Regions from separate parts of the Homo sapiens genome. Here regions 1, 3 and 4 are each linked to region 2. The links are contacts of gene promoters, found by promoter capture Hi-C in human tissues and cell types (Jung and others, 2019). All regions are on one chromosome and are shown on one strand. The core of a region is centred on a gene start or on the middle of the fragment in contact, and the rest is flanking DNA. Distances in the headings are between cores, read along the strand shown.

What was found. The method cuts DNA at HindIII sites, captures the fragments that hold promoters and counts their contacts. A contact is called where the count stands out against the background at its distance.
Region 1: a contact is called between the fragment with the promoter of ZNF589 here and the fragment with the promoter of PRKAR2A in region 2, in 1 of the 25 tissues and cell types used here (liver).
Region 3: a contact is called between the fragment with the promoter of AMT here and the fragment with the promoter of PRKAR2A in region 2, in 1 of the 25 tissues and cell types used here (bladder).
Region 4: the fragment with the promoter of SPINK8 here is called in contact with the fragment with the promoter of PRKAR2A in region 2 in 1 of the 25 tissues and cell types used here (mesenchymal stem cells).

The regions. Positions count from the first base shown.
Region 1 is chr3:48,239,306-48,242,730 of GRCh38, forward strand. It overlaps ZNF589 (zinc finger protein 589), which reads left to right and starts at 1,799. Exons shown (of 4, transcript NM_016089.3): 1 at 1,799-1,909. The coding sequence starts at 1,867. RefSeq lists enhancers at 954-1,248, 1,566-2,483, 1,674-1,968. The HindIII fragment of the contact is 6,944 bases long and covers 1-3,425 here.
Region 2 is chr3:48,846,512-48,849,820 of GRCh38, forward strand. PRKAR2A (protein kinase cAMP-dependent type II regulatory subunit alpha) reads right to left here and starts at 1,363. Exons shown (of 11, transcript NM_004157.4): 1 at 824-1,363. The coding sequence starts at 1,085. PRKAR2A-AS1 (PRKAR2A antisense RNA 1) reads left to right here and starts at 1,426. Exons shown (of 3, transcript NR_109997.1): 1 at 1,426-1,514; 2 at 1,594-1,897; 3 at 2,476-3,309. RefSeq lists a silencer at 1,176-1,505. The HindIII fragment of the contact is 13,078 bases long and covers 1-3,309 here.
Region 3 is chr3:49,420,563-49,424,197 of GRCh38, forward strand. AMT (aminomethyltransferase) reads right to left here and starts at 1,911. Exons shown (of 9, transcript NM_000481.4): 1 at 1,799-1,911; 2 at 1,542-1,709; 3 at 930-1,010. The coding sequence starts at 1,888. NICN1 (nicolin 1, tubulin polyglutamylase complex subunit) reads right to left here. Exons shown (of 6, transcript NM_032316.3): 6 at 1,771-3,635. RefSeq lists enhancers at 786-1,538, 1,539-2,292. The HindIII fragment of the contact is 4,289 bases long and covers 1-2,708 here.
Region 4 is chr3:48,332,046-48,335,569 of GRCh38, forward strand. SPINK8 (serine peptidase inhibitor Kazal type 8 (putative)) reads right to left here and starts at 1,616. Exons shown (of 8, transcript NM_001080525.3): 1 at 1,490-1,616; 2 at 321-426. RefSeq lists a silencer at 1,961-2,161. The HindIII fragment of the contact is 10,965 bases long and covers 1-3,524 here.

The DNA.
Region 1 (3,425 bases), core at 549-3,048, 610 kb before region 2:
TCCCAGCTACTGGGGAGGCTGAGGCAGGAGAATGGCGTGAACCCGGGAAGCGGAGCTTGCAGTGAGCCGAGATTGCGCCACTGCAGTCCGCAGTCCGGCCTGGGCGACAGAGCGAGACTCCGTCTCAAAAAAAAAAAAAAAAAAAAAAAAAAAACCAACCAAAAAAAAAAAGAATCCAAAAATATTAGCGGGGTATGGTGGTGCGTGCTTGTAATCCCGGCTACTCAGGAGGTTGAGGCAGGAGAATCGCTTGAACCCAGGAGAGGGAGGTTGCAGTGAGCCGAGATGGCACCACTGCACTCCAGCATGGTAGACAGAGTGAGACTCCGTGTTCTTTTCCCTAAAAAAAAAAAAAGAGTAATTGGGGAAGTTGTGCTTCAAAAGAGTAATTGGGGAAGTTGTGCGTCTTAGGGCCTCTGGAATAATGGCTGGTAATATTTAGAATTCCAGCCCTTCTCATCCTAATTTGGTGGCTGGTGGCCTTTCATTCATTTTACAAGAACAGTTTAGCCCTTGGGAAGGGCTATTATTTAAGCTATAAACTGAATTCCTTCCCAAGGCTACTTTGGCCTATGCCCAGAAGTGGACAAAGACAGTTTAGAGGTTGAAAGGAAGATGAGGTGGGTTAGATCTGATATCTTTTACTGTCATTGATAAGGCTCTGATGACTGGAGGAACACCAGGGTCCTTGGTCTCTGATAGGCTTAATAACACAGACACACGTGGAGTGGTTTTAAGGAGCGAAAAGTTTAATAGGCAAGAAAGAAGGAAGGAAGACGAAAACAGCTCCCCCATACAGAGACAGAGGGAGCGGGGATTCCAACAAAGAGAAAGCGCCGTGTGCGGAAAAGTGGCTGCTTATCTGAGGATGCTGGAGGAGGCGGTGTCTGGTTTCCATAGGGCTCAGGGGATTAGTTTGATCAGATGTGTCATTTATGTGGCAGCCAAAAACCTGGCCCTCCCACCCTAGCTTTTTAATATGCAAATGTAGGGCTCCATGAAGTTCTACACACGTGGGAATATGTGGGGGGTGGCCATGTTGCCAGGCACATGTCAGGGCAAAGAAAAGGACGGCGGGAATCGCCATGTTTGGGTGCGTCCAGTTTCTAATGGCCTGTATTTCCATATCAAAGCTTGCCATCCTGCTCTAGGAGCCCAGGCTTTCCTGCTAGACAAGAAACCTTTCTGGAGCTGCTTTAAAAGAAACAAAAACTTCCCAAGGACCCCTTTCCTTCTCTATCTGCTTAAAATAATTTCTTAATAACTCCTATAACATCATAATTTCCTTAGGTATAATTTTGCAAAGGCGGTTTCAAAAGCTCTTTGGGGTCCTCAGTAATTTTTAAGAGTGTAAAAGGATTTTAACAACAACAAGTTTGCGAACCACTGTCCTTGAGAAGCTCTCCATGGATGCGCATGAGTCTGTCCAATTGGAGTCCTGGTGTATTTCTACATTAGATACCACACAGCAGTGAACACACAATGAACAGGTCAACACGTGTCATTATAGAACTGCGCAAAAGAGCTAGTAGCAGGCATTGTAAGTGTATTTATATAATGTTTACAACCATGGAAAACAACACTATATTTTGCTTATGGGTACCTGTGGTAAGCACAACCCCAAATATTGCGGCCGAGGGGGACCTAGAAGGTCAAAGTGCGCCTCAGCATTTTCTCTCGCCCTGCACAAGCCGCATTTCGCCCCGAGAACTACGCTTCCCGGCAGGCTGCGCGCCGCGCGGTGACGCACTTCACCCAGTCCTGCTTCTTTCTTCTGGCGCCGCCAGTGGCCCGCGGTGCGCATTCTAATCCGTTTCACACACGGTGCTGCTACCTCGTTTGCTTCGTGCGTGCGTGCGCGCGCAGATGTGGGCCCCGCGGGAGCAGCTACTGGGCTGGACTGCGGAAGGTGAGTCGGGGCCGCGAGATCGCCTCCCCCATTCGGTGCTCCAGCCGCAGGCGCCGCGCAGGCGTCGGCCGTATCCACCAGGGATGCGCGTGGGGTGCGAGCTGTGTGAGGCGCTGACTACCCCTACAGCGGCTCTTACTCCCCTGGGGGGCCAGGTTCCTCCCTAGGTGTCCCGTACAGTCTCCACGGTGCTCACTCCACGACTCTTCACCGGGCATCCTGCACTTGTGCACTCCGGCAGTCATTGGCCATAAATGGCTGCTGAGCATTTGAGATGTGTGGAGTGCAACTGAAGAACAGCATTTTGTATTATTATATTATATCATATTTATTTTGAGACGGAGTCTCGCTCTGTCGCCCAGGCTGGAGTGCAGTGGCGCGATCTCCGTTCACTGCAATCTCCGTCTCCCGGGTTCAAGCAGTTCTCTGCCTCAGCCTGCCGAGCAGCTGGGATTACAGGCGCCCTCCACCACGCCTGGCTAATTTTTGTATTTTTAGTAGAGACGGGGATTTCACCATGTTGGCCAGGCTGGTTTTGAACTCCAGACCTCGTGATCCGCCCACCTCGGCCTCCCAAAGTGCTGGGATTACAGGCGTGAGCCACCGCGCCCGGAGTATATTATATTTTTATATTTTTTGAGTCGGTCCGGAGTGCAGTGGCGGGATCTAGGCTCACTGCAGCCTCCGCTTTCCCAGGCTCAAGTGATTCTCGTGCCTCAGCTTCCGGAGTAGCTGGGATTACAGGCGGCGCCTCACCACCCCGGCTGTTGTATTTTTAGTAGAGAGGGGATTTCGCCATATTTGCCAGGCTGGTCTCGAACTCCTGGCCTCAAGCAATCCACCCACCTTGGCCTCCCACAATGTTGGGATTACAGGTGTTAGCCACCCCACCCGGCCCAAAAGACTTTTTTTTTGGAGACAGAGTCTTGCTCTGTAGCCCAGGCTGGAGTGCAGTGGGCGATCTCTGCTCACTGCAACCTCTTTCTCCCAGGTTCCAGCGATTCTCCTGCCTCAGCCTACCAAGCGGCTGGAATTACAGGGACACGCCACCACGCCCGGCTATTTTTTTGTATTTTTAGTAGAGGCGGGGTTTCATCATGTTGGCCAGGCCGGTCTTGAACTCCTGACCCCAGATGATCCACCTGCCTCGGCCTCCCAAAGTGTTGGGATTACAGGTGGGAGCTACCACACCCGGCCCCAAATGACTTTGGATGTAACAACAGGAACAGTCTAGAACAGGGCTGGGCAAATTTTTTTCTGTTTGGTTTTTTTAGAAACAGGGTCTCCCTATGTTGCCCAGGCTGGTCTCCAACTCCTGGGCTCAAGGGATCCTCCCGCCTCGGTCTCCCAAAGTGCTAGGATTATAGGCGTGAGCCACTGCACCTGGTCTTGCAAACGTTTTCTTTTAAGGGCCAGGTGGTAAATGTTTCAGGCTTTGTAGGCCACACGGTCTTTGTTACGACTAGTGGTCTGCTGTTGTGTGAAAGCAGCCAAAGACCATAGGTAAACGAATGAG
Region 2 (3,309 bases), core at 113-2,612:
CGGCCAGGTTTTTCGTTTTCAAAAATGAGGTAGGGTGTCTATTTTGCCCAGGCTGGTCTCGAACTCTTGGATTCAAGCGATATTTCCTCCTCAGCCTCCAGAGTAGCTGGTATAGACTATAGGGGCCCACTGCCCCGGCCGGCAAGATAATTATTTACTCTCACCAAATTTGATTCAATCGTTTTGGCCAAGTTTTTAAAAATAGGAATATTCCCAGGGACCATGTTTGAAGAAATACAAACTCAAGTAAGCAGAGGTGAAATGACCTGAGAGATTTGCTTTAATACACTTCGGCAAAGAAAGAAAAAAGGTATGGATGAAACTTTGTGACAAACGCAACTGTTAAATGTAGGTGATGGCATATAGGGATTCATCTCACCTTTCCTCTTTTGTCTATGCTTAAAAGTTTTCACAGTAACTTTTCAAAAAAAATTATTATTTCCAAACAAACTTACTGTCCTATCAATTAAACACAAGTCACTGGATGAGAACGCTGTTGTCTTCGAAGCCAAAACTGGTGAAGGGTCTTAAGCAAAGGCGAGGGATCCTCTAGCAGGGCCGACAGCGCGCACGTTTCCTTCAAGGCTGGATCTGACAAATCACTCGGTGCGCTCTAGGGCTCGCAGGATCGCGGAGCTCAATTTGGAAGTGGCGCACGCGGGCTCACGCCGGTGTCTCAGGGAAACGCTAGAAACGCGGCTACAGAGCTCCCAATCCCAGCCTGCGGTCGGCTTGGCTGCGGCGCGACACCTGGCTCCCTGCCACCCCTCTAGACCTCTGGAGACCTCCTGCACCACTCCCCAGGGCCCCGCCCACAGCCTACCTTCCAAGTCCTCGTCCTCCTCCGACTCGCTGTCCCCTTTGGCGTCGGCGACACGGTCCGGGCCGGGTTCTGGCGGGGGGTGGCCCAGGCTCTGGCGTGGGGTGGCGGCGGGCAGGACTGAGGCTGGGGCGCGGGCCTCGCGCAGGCGGGTGAAGTACTCCACTGCGAATTCGACGAGGTCAGGCGGCTGCTGTCGCAGCACCTCCACCGTGTAGCCCTGCAGCAGCTCCGTGAGCCCCGGCGGGATCTGGATGTGGCTCATGCCGGCGGCGGCCGAAGGGATAGACGGGTTGGGCCGCCGGCGGCCACTGTCTCCGCGCTCACTCACGCCGGCCTTTCGCTCCGCGCCCGCGAGGTCTCTTCGCGCACGGCCCCGGCTCACGTCGCGCCGCTCTTTGGCCGGCTCTGCGTTTCCGGGCCGCGCAACCCTACGCTACCACGGCCGACCTGGCACCGCCGCCGCTGTCACTGGGCAGCCGCCGCCGCCGCGGGGACCGACGGGCAGGCGAGCTGGACGGGCGGGGCAGGCGTCCTGGTTGTGACGCACGCCACCGCGGGCGTGCGCGTCCCCGCTTAGCACCGGCCCTCAGTGCGCTTGCGCCACTAGATGACCCGCCCCCTCGGGCTGTCGGGGGGTCGAGACAGTGGAGTGTTCCTGATGCCAGCTCACGGAGGGAATCCAGGGAATTAGGTAATGAACGGTCTACCCATGAAGGGGACCGATTAGTGCCTCTCGCCTGGTCCTGAAGACCTTTAAATTATTCTTTCAGCTGATGCCAAGAGCCTCTTTTTGGCCAGCACTTACTAAGCACCAGAGACACAGCGAGAAGCAGAAGCATACGAGCACATCAGTGTGATTCTGCTGTGATGAAGGGCAAGAGAGGGCTCACTTTCCGGCGTGACATTCAAGCTAGCCCCGAGGCCTGAGCAGGACCCGCCCAGGGGAAGATCTGGAGGAAAGCCATCTGAACATACAACAAGAGCAAAGGCCTGGTGGAGTCAAGACCACCTTGGCTGCCAGGTGGAATGGTGGAATAACTCAGGAGTCTGTCAGGTCTCTGAGATGTCAAACGGGTAAGGCCTTGTAGGAAGTAGGCGTTTGAATGAGATCATAATTTGAGAGCCACAGACAGAAAAATAAATTTGAAAGAGTTCACTCAGCCAAATGTGTACAGTGAGAAAGGGAAATAAGGCCAAAAGCAGCAAAGACCTCTGTGCCTGTTCCTCCTGGAGCACTTTCACCAGGGTCCCCAGATCTAGGTCTGCCCATTCCTCTCCCCACATTCTACACTGGGCCCTAGGTCAACACTGCTTGATGAAGTTGAGCAGACCACAGGCATTGTTATCCTTTGCCCCTGGGAAGATGGTATAGGTGAACTGTAGAGGCCAGACTATTTCCCAAATTGCCCTCCTCCTCCTACCAAACTGGAAGGGTATTGAAAAAGGTGGAGACCTTCCTGGGATGTCCAGTCTACAGCCTACGTGCTAACCAAAGGCCCACTGGGCATAGAGCAGAGTCCCCCTCTCCTTACAGGCCTAGCCAGGAAGAGAGTAGCTGTAGGTTTGGGAACCTGAGGGCATTTGGGATGCTTAAACACCGCCTGGTAATTACTCAGTATTAATTAAAATCCTCCCTATCACCTCCCATACAGGCTTGGCACACACCCAGGAGCTCAATGCTGCTGGGAGCTGAGCAGCTGGGAGCAAGGAGCCCTCATCCCCACTGATGAAGAGGCCAGCCCAGGTTCTAGGCTAAGCAGGCCTGTGATTATAAACAGCAGTGTCTCCCTGGACAAGTTTCTTGACCCTGAGAAGAATGTTAGACCATCAACTTTGTGAGGGGACAGGCAGTCTCCAACTTTTTTCCTGCTCAGTCCTTATTGCATACTCTTGGAGAAGGTCTACTGACTTGTTCTCAGATGCCCCACGGCTCAGCCAACCACCCATCCAGCAGAGCATTCAAAAGGCATCTGGAAGGAATGAGGGCGACCGTTCTGCCAGGCCCCTATTTTTTTTTGAGAGGAGTCTCACTCTGTCGCCCAGGCTGGAGTGCAATGGCATGACCTCTGCTCACTGCAAGCTCTGCCTCCCAGGTTCAAGCGATTCTCCTGTCTCAGCCTCCCAAGTAGCTGGTACTACAGGCGTGCACCACCACACCCAGCAAATTTTTTCTATTTTTAGTAGAGATGGGGTTTCTCCATGTTGGCCAGGATGGTCTCAATCTCTTGACCTCGTGATCCACCCGCCTCAGCCTCCCAAAGTGCTGGGATTACAGGCGTGAGCCACCGCACCTGGCTTTTTTTTTTTCTTTTAGATGGAGTCTTCCTTTTGTCGCCCAAGGTGGAGTGCAATGGCACGATCTCAGCTCACTGCAACCTCCACCTCCCAGGTTCAAGCAATTCTCCTGCATCAGCCTCCTGTGTAGCTGGGATTATAGGCACCTGCCACCATGCCCAGTTAATTTTTGTATTTTCAGTAGAGACGGG
Region 3 (3,635 bases), core at 661-3,160, 570 kb after region 2:
ATCTGGTGCAACCTCTGCACCCCTCCCCACTCTGTACTGAGAGTCCCATCTGACACTTAATCTATGACACCTAGGACCTGCTGCTTCACCTACCCAAACCTGGGACGACTTAGCCCATGTGGCAACCCACAGGACAAAAGCTTCAAAGGTCATCTTGATGATCGCAGGCTCTCCTAAGTACTCCATAGCAATGCCCCCAAAAAACTTCCTTAGCCTCCCCACTGGATGGACAAAAAGCCTGAGGTTGAGGGGGTCACATGAATCACCTGGGGATCTTGTTAAAATGAAGGTTCTGATTCAGCAGGTCTGCAGCAGTGCCTGAGACTATATTCCTAACAAGCTCCAAAGATGCTGGTTTAGAGACCACACTTTGTTGTTGTTATTTTTCTTTTTAGACTGAGTCTCACTCTGTTGCCCAGGCCAGAGTGCAGTGGTGCAACCTCAGCTTGCTGCAACCTCAGCCTCCCGAGTAGCTGGGACTACAAGCACGCGCCACCACGCCCGGCTAATTTTTGTGTTTTTAGTAGAAACGAGGTTTTGCCATGTTGGCCAGGCTGGTCTCGAACTCCTGACCTCAGGTGATCCACCCGCCTTGGCCTCCCCAAGTGCCAGGATTACAGGTGTTTGAGTCACGTCGCCTGGCCAGGGACCACATGTTGAATAGAGAGGGGTTAAGCAGAAGGGATGGCCAGAGAGCAGCATATTAACCTTGGTTTCTGGCCTCCTAGCCTGATGTAGTAAGACTGGGATATTCCCCTCCCTACAAATGTCTGTGTCTCTGGAAATGACTCAGGGATTCTGTCCAAGACTGCAAGCCCTGAGAAGCTGTGTTTGACTCATCTCTGTGCCCCTAAGCCTGAGGTAGGGACTCAGCCCATTTGCTGGCTCATGACTAAGAAAACTCATAGAGCAGAAATAAAAGGGCCCACCTGGTTTGGTCTTAGCTCTGCAATGTCTCCAACCACTAGACTCTCCATCAGCTTCACCCGGTCACTACCAAGTATCTTGGTCTGGGGAAGAGATTGAAAGCCTCAGGCCATTGCAACAGCTACAATCCAAAAGGCTACTAAGCAAGGATGCATCCTCCCTGCCATCCACAGTGCAGTCCAGCCCACCCAAAGTGACTAACCAGTCTTTTGGTTCTACACGTGGCAAAGGACCACCTTCTGATTTCCTGACCTCCCCCAGTCACTCTGTGTGGGGGGACTGCCAGGGAACTGGACAGGACCTAGCACCTTCCTGAAATAACCCCTTTTCAAACCAACATCCAGCCCAATACATGAGAGTGGGTGTCAGCCCTGGAAAACCCGGGACATTAAGGCACACCATTTAATGGGGGCAAGCTAGAAGGATGAGATGATGAGACCCTCTGAGCTCATTTCCTTGGGGCCATTGACCTATCCATGACACCCCCATGACCTCTAGCTCTTCTGAGAAGGCTGTCCTTGGAATCCAGTTCACAGCAAACAAAGCCAAGGAGTGGACCACTGTAAACAGGGAGGAAGGCCTGATCAGATGGCCAGTGTGCTCCCCTGGCTCACCTGCAGCATATGAGACACGTCAAAGAGCGAGCAGTGCTGGCGTGTGTGCAGGTGCGAGTCAGTGTGACTGTCCCGGTACTGCACTGGCAGACTCCAACCCGCAAACGCCACCATTTTCCCGCCGTGGGCCAGGTGGAAGTCATAGAGCGGTGTCCTGCGGAGCACCTCCTGTGGGCGGCTGGGCTTAGTGCCACCAGGGCCCTAGCCCCCAGCCGCTTCCCTCCCCCACCCTCCAAGATCAGCACCCTCTATCCCACCTGTGCGCAACTAAGTGGACGACACAAGGCCGGGGGGAATGCCTGCAGGCGAAAGCCCAGACGGGCCACCACACTTACAGCCCTCTGCATCGTCGCCTGCAACGAGTGCAGACGGCGCACAGAGGCCACCACACTGCCAGGCACGCCGGGAGATGTAGTCCAGGCCTCTGCTCGGACAGGTCTCTCTCCGGAGCAAAGGATCTGAAGGGGGCGTGGGCAGCCCCAAGGGCAGGCTGGGATTTAGAGCAGAGAATGCAGGAACCCGCAACCACAGGGAAGAAGCCTCCAGCTCTTTCGGCTGACTCTTCAGGGCAGCTCGGGCAATCCAGAGCTGATTGGGCTGCCCAGAACAAAGCTAGGGGCTAGACCGCCCCCTGCAGAACCGCCCTGTCTCCAGAGGGTCAAAGTTCTGGAAAGGGCTGAAAGGTCTGAATCATACCTTTAGGACCTCAAGAGAGTAAGGTCAAGTGGGGGTGGGGAAGGTGGGCCAGCCTGGCAGGTAGGCAGCACCACAGTAGTCTGTCCTCATGTGGACCCCTAGTTCCACAGCTCTCCCACCAGGCAGACACAGGCAGCCAGCAGTCATGCATTCCACAAGTATTTATTGATCTTACTGCATACCAGGCCCTCAGATGGGGACACAGCCACGAATGAAGCATGGTCCCTGCTACCACAAGGTCCTCTTCACTTACACACACACTGAGGACTACTGCTTCGTCACGCTTTCCGAAGCAGCTGAGTGGGGCTATGTAAGTGACCTTGCAGATGAAGTCGCCACCTGCAAGAACTCACAGGTGAGAACAGAGGGTGGCCACCAAAAGGTCACTGAACTCCCCCGAGAAAACTGTTGAGCCACACACATGTCCAACTTTCCAGGTCCAAGACATACTGCAGTACTGCTTTGTAATAGCCACCAGGTGCAAAGCCAGGAAGAACCAGAGGGAAACAGGTTTTTCTCACATGAGGGAAGAGCAGCCTGCATCACTTAATGGTTGGACTGAGTTAATGCAGGACTTAGGCCTCTTAAAAGGCAACAATGAGAACCCTTACTTGGACCCACTCCCCACCACGGTTGATCTCTCATTATGCTGAGCATATCTCTTGGAAAGGGGCAGGGCGGGCGCGGTGGCTCATGCCTGTAATCCCAGCACTTTGGAAGGCCAAGGCAGGCAGATCACCTGAGGTCAGGTGTTTGAGACCAGCCTGACCAACATGGAGAAACCCCATCTCTACTACAAATACAAAATTAGCCAGGCATGGTGATGCATGACTGTAATCCCAGCTACTCGGGAGACTGAGGCAGGAGAATTGCTTGAACCTGGGAGGCGGAGGTTGCAGTTAGCCAAGATTGCACTATTGCACTCCAGCCTGGGCAACAAGAGCAAAACTCAACCTCAAAAAAAACAACAAAAAAGGAGAGGGGCAACTGGGAGAAAGGATAGAGATGTGCTTTGGGCTATGTCAGATGGCAGAAGGGTCCCAGTTCTTTTTTTTTTGTTTGTTTGTTTAAGATGGAGTTTCGCTCTTCTTGCCCAGGCTGGAGTGCAATGGCATGATCTCAGGTCCGCAACCTCCACTTCCCGGGTTCAAGAGATTCTCCTGCCTCAGCCTCCCAAGTAGCTGGGATTACAGGTGCCTACCACCACGCCCAGCTAATTTTTTGTATTTTTAGTAGAGACGGGGTTTCTCCAGGTTGGTCAGGCTGGTCTTGAACTCCTGACCTCAGGTGATCCGCCTGCCTGGGCCTCCCAAAGTGCTGGGATTACAGGCGTGAGCCACTGCACCCTGCCTAGAAGGGTCCCAGTTCTTATGCTCAGGCCCTGGTTTTGCTAGAGAC
Region 4 (3,524 bases), core at 366-2,865, 510 kb before region 2:
AGGGGCATGGATGAGGGGGTGGCTTATTTCTATTCGGACAATCTTTTTTAAAGTGTCCTTGTAGACCGCACTGGAATCAAATCCCTATTAGGCATTCGATTTGCCCAGCCTTTCACTTTTCCAGAGCCTCCAAAGTCCACTTGCCTGAAGGCCATGACTAAAGCGGTGGCCTTCTTTTTATCCCGTTTGTCCAGTTCTGCCTGCTCCTTCTGATCTCTATTATAAAAACTGAGGCCAAGTTCTTAGTTTAAGTTTTGTTCCAGGCCTAAGGCGGATTTTGAAGTTTTTTTCTAATGTCTGCAGCTGAGTGATAAACTTACCCTTTAAGATTAGTTGGCCTTCAATAGATCCAGATGACAGAGAGGTATGCTTCCTCAATGCCTCCCTTAGTCTCTCCAGAAAGGCAGTAGGATTTTCTTCCTTTCCCTGTGTTATAGTGGGCATCATTGAATAATTCATAGGCTTCTTCCTAGTTTTTCTTAGTCCTTCTAGCATGCAAGTTAGCAAATGTCTGCGGCACCAATCTCCACATTCTGATTCTGCGTCCCATTGAGGGTCTACACTGGGAACTGCCTGCTGGCCTGTGGGGAATCGTTCTCTTTCCTCTGTTGTCATCCTATCATTGACCTGACTGAGATACCAGAGATTGCCAAACTCTTGGGCTGCAGTTATAGCGGCACTTCTCTCATTTGGGGTTAGTATCTGATCTAGCAGTAACATTATGTCTCTCCATGTCAGATCAAAGGATTGTCCTAACCCTTGTAAAACATCAATATAGCCATCAGGGTTATTTGAGAATTTACCTAGGTCTATTTTAATTTGCTTCAAGTCTGAGAGGGAAAAAGGTACACACACTCTGGGCTGAATTCTCCTCCTCCCACCACTTCAAGGGGGCATAATCTGGGAATATTGGCACTCTTTGGTTCATTGTTTACCCCTTTCTCTATCTCCTTTGGCACCGTTTGTGTTGAAGGGGGGTCATTATTAGTTGGGGAAGGAGCCGGGGGAACGCCGGGGCAGGGGGGTAGATTCTGAGGGCTTCCTGTAGGGCATAAATCACACTTTTAACATAATTGTGAGTTGTCTCTTAATGAAAAGAAAGTTTGCACATATGGCACTTCGCTCCATTTGCCCTATTTTCTACAAAAGAAGTCTAGCTGTAAGATGGTGTTATAATTTATACTTCCCTTGGAGGGCATGTTTCTCCCTCTTGAAGAGGATATTGTGGCCAGGGGTACTGCAGAAGAATATAAGTCGTTTCTTTCTTAGCATCTGAGGGTCAAATTGGTCCTAATTCTCTAGAATACATCTTAGGGGCGTTTTTGCCTGGGAGGGGGGAACGTTTAAAAAGAACATAGGGATGCCAGCACCCCTAGTCATTTTCTGATGAGCATTAGTCCTAGAGCGTCCTCTGTGGTCCTAATGCTTATTCCTTTTCAGGGTGCGTAACCACCCACGGACCTCTGCTTATCAGATTAGTTACACTCACCGATGTAGCAGTCCTGCACCTGTTTTCCTGCCCTTCTTGACCACAAAGAAAGGGGTCTGGGCTGCTGGATTCTAGTGGTCCTTTACCAGCGTGCCTGACATTGCCTTTGCACTCAGGAGTGAGTTCTAGAGCTGGGCTGGGTTTCTGAGTATTTCATAACAACCCAGTTGCCCCATCAAGATGCATTTTCATAAACAACAGTTCTTATGCAAATTCGTTTCAGAGAGGGTGTAGGTAACCTTTTGAGTCAGGATTGAGATAGAGTTTTTGCCCACTAGGGCCTTTGTCCTTTTCCTTTGTAGGAATATGCCTTAATTATCGAACTTAAGATTTTGTTGCCCTGGATTAAGTCCTTTTGGGTACGAAATATGAGAGATGGCTCCTGTTTATCCTATGTGCCTTTTTCCTACGAGAAGGAGAGCGAGGAGAAAAAGATGGGCTTGCTCTTTTTGTAAGTACTTTAAGGCTTGGCTGAGTGCAAACAGCTCGCAGTTTGTGCAGACCAATTATGAGGCAATTCTCCTAACTCTGCTTCCACAAGAGTTTCCTTATCAATTACTGAATACCCATTGTGGTTTTTTCCTCAATCGCCTGGGAGGAACCATCTATCGTCCTATCCTAAAGGAAGTTCCTCCTAGGTCTGGTTGGACCTTTGCATGGCAATTAAGATTTAAATCCCCTGTTAGGAAATCTGCTGGGTTAAGGGAATTATCAGTGGTTGGTGTTAAATCACCTTTTTCTAACAGAATAGCCCCATACTTTAAGAATTTTGAGCTAGTAAGCTACCTTTTTTTTTTTTTTTTTTTGGTCTTAGGATTGTTCTGAACTGGTGAGGTGTGCTCACAATGAGGTTTCCTCTAAAGGTTATTTTTCTACTTTATTCTGTTAGCAAAGCAGTTGCCACTACAGATTGAATGCATTTGGGCCATCCACGGGTTACTGGGTTCAGGATTTTTGATAGGAAGGCTATGGGTTGTCAGTGGTCTCAGTGTTTTCGGGCTACGCCCTTGTTTACACTGACAACAAGGTAGTATTGGAGTATTATAGGGTCGTGGAGAAGACCTTTAATTATCAATTATAGGTTCTAAATTTACCTTGGCTTTTAAAGGAATAGGGTACACTGTTTTTTCTTTACTACCTCTCTCTTTCCCTTTTTTCTTTCTTTCTCTCTTTGACTTTCTGCCTCTTCCTCTCTCTGTCTGTCTTTTTTTAGATGGATTTTGGAAACGCAGTGGAAGGACGTTCACTTGTTGCCCCAGTTTGCCACTATAGGAACATGTGCCTCCCTTTAATTTACTCAAATTCGTTTTCATCCTGATCTATTATGTTGTTGTAGACTCAGTTCCAGTTGTTAAAATACTGGGTTATCAGTTCTAAGGGCCTGGCCAAGGAGCCAAGGCTTGGAGATTGTATTGCAGGGGGTAGTAAACTGGGTAGAAATTAGGGGAGGAGAGCATCTTACACAATGGGAGAGCGATCTTCCTAGCTATTTACAAACTTGGGGCCCTGGCAAGGGTGGTGGGGAATGGGTCCCACATAACAGCCCATGTTGACAGCTATATACCTAAATTGGGAGGGACACCAGGGGCAAGACTCCCTGGGTTCATAGCCTAGATATCTAAGGCCACAGCATAGAGCTTCCTTAGATCTCTTTGGAGATACAACTTGCTCTAATACTTGGGAGAGGAAATGAAAGTCTGAAGCATTAGTACCTAGGAGGCAGGGATTGGAGGAAGTAGATTCAGAGGTAAGGAGAATTTTTGGGGCTACACTTTCAAGAAAGTCATGGTCGGGACCCAGGAGGTATGGGTCAGAAGGAAAGGTAGGGGTGCACACGTGGGCAACTGTTGAGTAGAGACTTCTGGCTGCACCATGATCTCAACCAGCCAATGCCGGGAGTTCAGGACGACAGCTTTCTGCCTCTAGTCGGCCCTCGGCTTCCCCCCAGGAAATTGTGAAAGCGGAAGCTGGTTCCAGGCAGACCAACGCTCCTAACCCCAAAGGGTTGGGGGTTGTTAGAAAGCCTTTTCCCAGA